2 separate regions of the Homo sapiens genome follow, and region 2 is linked to region 1. Evidence: promoter capture Hi-C in 16 types of primary human blood cells and fetal thymus (Javierre and others, 2016). All regions are on one chromosome and are shown on one strand. The core of a region is centred on a gene start or on the middle of the fragment in contact, and the rest is flanking DNA. Distances in the headings are between cores, read along the strand shown.

Region 1 (3,923 bases), core at 1,064-3,563:
GCCTGTATTTTATGTGGCAACCCTGTTTGAGGAGGATGTAGGCCAATGCCTGGTGACTGGGCCACCATCACTCCTCAGCCCCCCAGGAGCTCCTCCTCCTGCTCACGGCCCTCCTCACCCCCAAGCAGGCCACCTCACAGCTTCCCCAGTCTCTATTTCCTCACCTGCATGAATTGCTAGATCTAATTGGGGCCCCCAGGCTGTGTCAGGAGTGAGAGAGGAAACTTGAGGACAACTCAGAGTGTCATGCTGGGAGCCCTGGGGTCCTCGGAGATGACTGACCTTGAGTCACCTGCACCCTTAGTCTGGACAGCAGGGGGGATGGGGCCCTGTAGCTGCCTCCACAGGGCAGGTCTGGAGATGAACAGAGATGGGAAGCGAGATTCAGAAGAGATTTTGACATAGGAGACAGAGACCCCGGGATAAGGGCACAGAGACACAGAGCCTGGAAGGAGAGGGACCCAGAGATGGAGAGACAGAGATTTGGAAAGAGATTTGCAGAGATGAGGAAAGAAAGACAGATTCACAGCTGGAAAGGTGAAGATGCAGGGTGAGAGACGAAGATTCAGAGATGAGGAGACAGGGATGTTAGGACACAAGTGAGGAGATGTCCCCCAGACATCCAGGCTCTAGGACCAATGACGGACGTGCACCGGCAAGACAGTGAGCGCTGCCGGGAGTTCTGGGGACAGGAAGACCCAACCATCTGGGTGGTGCTGGGAGACCAAGGCTTGGGTCCTAATGTGTTGGAGGGAGGGAGGGAGGGAGGGGACACCTGGGATCCCAGCTAGCAGGGTGATCCACCTGCCATCACCCCATACCCGGCGGGGTGATGACACCACCTTCTCTGCAGGTGACACCCCAGTTTTCTAGTGCCTCCTACATTTTTGGGGTGACACCCGTGCTGAGAACCCCACCCAGCTCTAATGCTGCTTCCCTCACTGAGTCACCTCCCAACCCCGTCAGGCCTGTTGGGGGGAAACTTTGGCGATTCAGGCACCCAGACCCCCAGCTCCTTCCCTGCTCAGGAGCCCAGCAGTGTGGAATCCCAGGACCCCTACCCTACTGAGGGATGTGCAGCCTGGCCTCATGAGACGCAGGAGTCCAGGGCCCCAGCCCCTCCTCCCTCAGACCCAGGGGTCCAAGCCCCCACTCCTTTGCTCCATTAGGACCCAGGAGTCCCAGGTGACGTCCACGTCCTTCAGGAACTGCGGCTTTTCAGTTCCCAGCCTCCTCCCTTCCCAATTTGGAGCTGGGGTGAGGTGTGTTTATTTACTTTGGTTCCAACATGAGTCATTCCCCAAAACACACTGCCCCCCATGTGTCTCCTGGCTTGAATGGGGAGGACACTGTCCCCCTCTCCCAGGAAAGTGGGGATATCACTGAGAGAGATGAGCGAGACCCTGAAAGGGGAGTCCCACACAGCACTCTCTCCCACTCCACCCGGCCTTTTTCTCTCCCCACCCATCACCTCTCCCCATTTCCCTGCCCTCTAAGCCTGTTCAGTGATCCCCCCACCTGCCTCTCCACTTTTCCATCTCCGTCTCTCTTCTGTCTCCCATCTCCCCTTTTCTTTCCTTTTTTTTTTTTAAGACAGGGTCTTGCTCTGTCACTGAGGCCGGAGTGTAGTGGCGGGAACACGGCTCACTGCAGCCTCAAACTTCTGGACTCAAGCGATCCTCCTGCCTCAGCCTCTCAAGTAGCTGGGACTACAGGCACATGCCACCATGCCCGGCTAATTCTATTTGTATTTTTTGTAGAGATGGGGTATCCCTATGTTGCCCAGGCTGGTCTTCAACTCCTGGGCTCAAGCGATCCTCTCACCTCAGGCGATTACAGGGTTGGGATTACAGGCGAGAGCCACCATGCCTGGCCCATCTCCCCTCTTCTTGTTATTTCTTTTCACATTTTTGTGCCCCTCTGTTTCTTGGCACCTCTCCATCTCTCTACATCTTCCTGCGTCTCTCCATCTCTCTGAATCTCCTCTCTCTCCTTTCTGTCTAGAGGGACTTCCCTGCCTGCCTTTCTGACACTGTGTTTCTGTCTCTCCCTCTCTTTTGGTCTCTGCGCATTGACCCGGCTGTGGCCCCCCGCCCCCGCCAAACCTCCCACCCCCCGCCACCTTCTTTTCCCTGGGTCCTGGGAGCTGAGGCAGGAGGAGAAGTGGGGGGATGGGAGTGGAGAGGGAGGGCGGGAAATCCCAGTGTGGGGAGAGGGTCGATCAGACCGGCTTGGCTCCCTGGGCACCTCTGTCAGAGCCCCGCCCAGGGCTGCGTGGCCGCCCATATAAGTGGCTCTGGGCTGAGACGGAGAAGTCAGTGCCCGTGTCTCCACACGTCTGCCTCCATCACTGCCATCGCGATCCTGCAGGTAGGAACATCCCCTCCGCAGCCCTCTTCTTTGAGGTTGGGCGCCTCTGCTCTGTTCTCCCTCCTCCTCATCCCACTCATATCACTCTGTCTCCTTTCATATCGCTGATTGTCGGTCTCTCGGGACATCTCTGTCCTTCCCAATGCCCCCAAATCTGTCCTTCTTAACTGGGGTGTGCTGAGCTGAATTTAGAAGTCTTGGGGCCCAGCATCACCTCTATGAACCCCCTTGGCCTGGGCCGTCAGACGTGGGGCGTTCCTCCTCATGTCTCTGAGCCTCAGTGCTCATCTGTGAGATGGGCTTGCAGAGGAGTCAAAGTGCTGGGCACATGTGGGCATTACTGGTGACATCTCTACGGGCACCTGGCTCTGATCTTTCTCCCCTTGTCTCTGACTCTGTCCATCTCCATTTCTTGTTCTCCCTCAAGCTCTATCTCGGGTATGGGGAGGGTCCTCTGCAATCTGTCGGGCAGTTGGAAAGACATGGGCGAGTTTCTCGCCCCCGCCCTATCCATTCCCTATTCCATGTCTCTCCTGGTTGACAGGCTGACTTGGCCTCTTTCTCCCCAGCTCCCCTCCCCCTGAGAGCCCAGCCCCCAGTGCCCCAGTCCCTTGCCCCCACCTCCCCAGTATCCAGCGTCCCTTGGACAGACTCTGCCACTGTTGCCACAGCCACTTCTGCCGTCCCCAACGCCACCTCCTCAGGGCCAGCAAGATGCAGTTTGAGATGCACGACAACGTGAAAGGCAAAGGTGGGACCGCTGGGTGGACCAGCAACCCTCTCAGTACTGGAACCTGGCCGCCTCCCTCCCCTGGGCACCCTTGCTTCGAAGACAGACGGCGCCTGCTTCCACCCCAGAGGCCCCAGAAATGCTGCAACCCAGAACCCAGGCCCAGACGTGGAGGAGGAGGCGGCACCGCCAGGCCCCACCCAGATGTGGTCCCCACCCTTCCTCAGATGTGCAGGAGACCCCCACCCCCAGCCTAACCAGACGTGCAGGAGCCAGCAGCAACAGGGACAGACTGGGGTTGCCGGTGCCCAGATGTAGCAGAAGGGAAGGGGGAGGCACAGTGGTGTCCCTTCAGTGGGCGGCCTGGCGGCCCCGCCCAGACTGCCCGGCACAGGGAAGGGTGGCCGAAGTGCGGGGCCCAGGAGATGCTGCGAGGCTGCCAGCTGACCCCTACCCTCCCACCTCTGCAGCTATGTCCTACCCTGTGACCAGTCAGCCCCAGTGCGCCACCACCAGCTGCTACCAGACCCAGCTCAGTGACTGGCACACAGGTCTCACGGACTGCTGCAACGACATGCCTGTCTGTGAGTGCCTGCCTGCTCCCTCTCCAGGCCTGGTGGAAGATGGGTTTGGGGGGAATCAGGAGAGGGAAGCTCACCTCCAACCTCCTCCCACCGCTTGCTAACCCCACTCCCACCTCCCTTCCCTGGACTTGGAATTCCCACTCTAACAGTCACCCTTTCCTCAGACCCCCAACACTCCTTAGGATACTACCTCATGCCTTCCCACACTCAACTTATCAGGCCCTCAACCTCCCCTTTGC
Region 2 (3,923 bases), core at 858-3,357, 530 kb after region 1:
CCCACCTCAGCAAGTTCATCTTTCAGTCCTCAGAGGCCGCGGCTGAGTTATGCTGGTCCTCTGTGCTCACTCCATGGCCTGAAAGAGTGGGCCCCAATAGACATTTGAGGCACAAGTGTACCACAAATCTACAAAATGCTTCATATTCTGAAGGGCCAAGCAACCTGTACCAAGGCCAACTCTTTTCCGGGTCATGGAGGAGTTTTGCCGATTTCCAAACCCTGCTTCCCACCTACTTCTTATCTGGAGACAAGTTGTGGTCAGGATGGAGTCCCCACTTCACAGAGAGAGAAGGTTTAAGATTGGAGAGGCCGAGGCCCCTTAGTGAAGGTCGGTGCTAAGGCTGTCACCTTGACATAACACGGCACTGCCACCGCCCACCCTGTTACATCTTCCTGAAAGTGAAGATTTAGTGAGTACTGAAATATTAAGACACGTGAGAACTAACACTAGTCAGGGACTGTACATAAATTATTATTGGAAGATTGAAAAGAGACGGGGCTGGCACGAGGTTGCAGGGTGTCCATAAGATCAGAAGTCAAGATTTAAAGCAGGGACTGACCTGGCCAGATCTCCAACCATTTAGTTAGAAACAGCCTGTTAGAGATATGGAGAAGGCTAACTTGATGATCTGAGCAATAGTAAAGACAACTGGCTTTTTCCTGAATAACTACTGTGCAACAGACACGTTCTAAACACTCTGCTTTAAATTCATTCAATCCTTGCAATACTCTAGTACTGGTACAATAATTAGTCCCATTTTGGGGATGAGAGAGTGCACAGGCAGGTTAACCAACTTGCCAGAGGACACACAGCCAGATGTAAAAGATGGATCCAAACCCAGGGAGTCTGCCTCCGTGTATATAGAAAGGATTAAACCACCTGTAAGCAAAATATGAACATTCATCTGTCTCTGGTTTCCCCTGAGGCTCAAAGCCACAGGTCCTCCTCTCACAAAGCTCTTAGAATGTCATAAAAACTTGGAGTACCAAGTTATCGAATGTCACATCACACAAAGCAAGTGGTGACACAACCAAGGGTTTCTCTCCCTCTTGGGGCGGGAAAGAGCTCAGAGGAGACAGGGAAGTATGGTTTGTGCCAGGGGTCACCCAGCTCCCCACTCTCCAGCCAAAGACCTAAGTTCCTCACCAGCTCGCGTGTAGAACCAGTTCTCATCGTAGGGAGCAAGCTCTTTGTGCTTGGCCAGCTTGACGGTATCCACCCATTCGGGGACTTTCAGCTTCCCGGACCTAAGACCAAAACAGTGGGAAAAGCACGATTCAGTCATCTCCACAAACTACCCCATATCCCAAATGCCCTCCCCTCAACACAACTATGCTGTGCCCAGAGTACAAAGAGAGGCTGGAACCGGAACACAAGCCAGGCCTCACGCTGAAAGGAGCCACGGAGGCCCCAAACAAGCCTCGCCTGCCAGGGACCGGCAAACACTGGGGCTCAGATGGGCAGGCCAAGGCGACAGCCTCCACCCGTTTTGAACCTCAGTCCCCAAACTCACTTTTTGAGGAAGGCTGCCAGAGCTCTGACGAACTCCTGCTGGTTCACGTCTTTTACAGTAACTCCAGGCATCTGAGGGAGAAAGTCAAGCATGTGAACACAGGCCTGGCAGAGACGACTGCCAAGAGCACGGACCCCACCCCAATCCTTTCGCTCCAGCGCATCCTAAACCGTGGTACCCCCCGTTACTTCCCACGGCCCCTTCAACGCCGGGCTCCGGCTCCTGCGGGTCTGAAGGAGCTCACCGACGCCCACGGCCTCTCTGGATCGCACTAACAGAGCCCGGCCCCTGCGTGTGAGGATCCTGCGCGACCCCACTCCCCAGCCCCGGGACTCCGGACGCCCCACGCACCCCGCCGCTGCCCCCCGGGGCCCACGCTCGGTTCCCGGACGGCGCTGACCGGGCATGTCCGGGCCTGCCGCTCGCACGTGGCCGCGGCTCTAGGGGGCGGGACGGGCCCGCGCCGGGCGCCTCGGGGCCCTCAGGCACGCGCTCTGAGGCTTCGGCGTCCGGCCCTGCCGCCTCGCGCCCGGTCCAGCTCGGAGCCCCCGCTTACCGTGCGGCCTCCGCGCTGCCAGCCAGGGGAAAGGGAACGACGGGGTTTCCCGGGCGCACAAGTCGGGCGTAGGGTCTCGCGAGAGTTCCGAAAGCTCGCGAGAGCGAGGGTAGACGCTGAGGCTCCGCCTCTCTCAGGGCGAAAGTTCGTCCCCGCCTAGAGGGGAGGGTGTCTAGTGAGGGGTGGAGAGGTAAAGGGGAGGGCCAAGGGGTCGCGCGTGGAGGCCTGGGTTTCCTCCCGCGTTTCCTTCTCCCGGAGTGTAATAGAGAGAGGATAGAGAGCTCCTGTTCGGAGCTGGGGGAACTTGGCTTCGTTTGCGTCGTTCGTGGCTGGAAGGAACAGTGGTGGAGAATACTATGATGGCGAAAGTACGGGGCAGGATGGGTGGGCCACAGCTGGCGCCCCACGGCGGAACAACCCCTTTTCCGGGTGGAAGTGGCTGTTCCCTGGCCGGAAGTGGGAGTAGTAAGGGCGGAACTGTGACAGGGAACCTAGGGGAAGGGCGAGGAAGAAATGTGGCTATCATCTTCCGTCCTTCACCGCCAGGAGTCGCGAGAGCGGGAGACGGAAGCCCCACCCTTCTCAGGGCGGAAGTTGCTTCAGCACGGCCGGGGCGAGCGAAAAGGGAATGAGGCGCTGGAGGAGGGGAGAAGATAAGGGCGGGACAAAGCGGCAGAGGCGGGACCTTAGCAGAAGTTAGTTCAGCTCTGCCTTCTAGTGTCGGAGTCTGTTCGCTCAGCCCTTACTTTGCCAATTTAGATTTACCTGCCCCGCTGACCTGTGTAGCTTTAGGCAGTCCATTTGCCTTCTCAGGGCTTGTCTCACCATTAAAAAAAAAAAAAAAAAATGAGATCCCCGTTTGTCCATTTAAAGTGGCTCCTCTGGTTCATGGCGCGTCACATGCTCTAAAAAATATTTTTTGAGTGCCTGCTCTGTGCCAGGCACAGGTAAATATTATTTGGACATTTATCATGTGGCTGTTACTGTAGTGTTACATGCATGATCTCATTTAATCCTTACAAGGCCCAACAACTAAATAACGTGGTCCAATAAAATTATGTTAACTTGTTGCAAAAAGGAAACACTGAAATGTGTGTAGCTATTTTCTTATGTTGGAAAGACTGAGAATTTAAAACATAAGAGCAAATATTAGAATTTTACCCCACACTGATACTGTGGCTGCAAAATGTGTTAATTATTAATAAGCCAAGACTCGTATCTGTTAGAAAAATTAAAACCAACCATGCTTCTAGCATAAGATCATATATTTAAATCAAGGTTTTACATTCATGTAGAATGTTGTTGAAACCTATCTCATACTGTTTCTAAAACTTGAGAAAATATTTTCATTATCTCAATTGTTTTTCCAGAACCAACACATACATATTTCCATATGTATTCAAAGTGGGTAATATATGCATGTCTAACTGGAAATCTCCAGGTACTTGGGTAATTTATATTCACTTTTTATAATTTAAGTAATTATTATTTAATTTTTTTTGAGTTGGAGTCTCGCTTTGTCGCCCAGGCGGGAGTGCAATGATGTGATCTTGGTTCACTGCAACCTCCACCTCCCGGGTTCAAGCGATTCTCCGGCCTCAGGCTCCCAGGTAGCTGGGATTACAGGTGCCTGCCACCACACCTGGCTAATTTTTGTATTTTTATAGAGACGGGTTTTCACCACGTTGGCCAGGCTGGTCTCGAACTCCTGACCTCAGGTGATCCACCTGCGTTGGCCTCCCAAAATGCTGGGATTACAGGTGTGAGCCACCGTGCCTGGCCCCCACTTTTAATAATTTCTAATACCAGTTCTGAATCATTTACACTTAATTCATTTAAGTCATTTCATTG

The links. Contacts are between HindIII fragments. The CHiCAGO score rates a contact against its expected background, and 5 or more counts as called.
Region 2: a contact is called between the fragment with the promoter of RPS19 here and the fragment with the promoter of CNFN in region 1, in 3 of 17 cell types (naive B cells, total B cells and naive CD4 T cells). The highest score is 8.9, in naive B cells.

Annotation. Positions count from the first base shown.
Region 1 is chr19:42,388,687-42,392,609 of GRCh38, reverse strand. CNFN (cornifelin) reads left to right here and starts at 2,313. Exons shown (of 4, transcript NM_032488.4): 1 at 2,313-2,370; 2 at 3,571-3,684. The coding sequence starts at 3,573. The HindIII fragment of the contact is 9,287 bases long and covers 1-3,923 here.
Region 2 is chr19:41,858,439-41,862,361 of GRCh38, reverse strand. RPS19 (ribosomal protein S19) reads right to left here and starts at 2,107. Exons shown (of 6, transcript NM_001022.4): 1 at 2,073-2,107; 2 at 1,517-1,587; 3 at 1,150-1,250. The coding sequence starts at 1,587. RefSeq lists silencers at 1,786-1,905, 1,966-2,095 and an enhancer at 1,649-2,404. The HindIII fragment of the contact is 18,374 bases long and covers 1-3,923 here.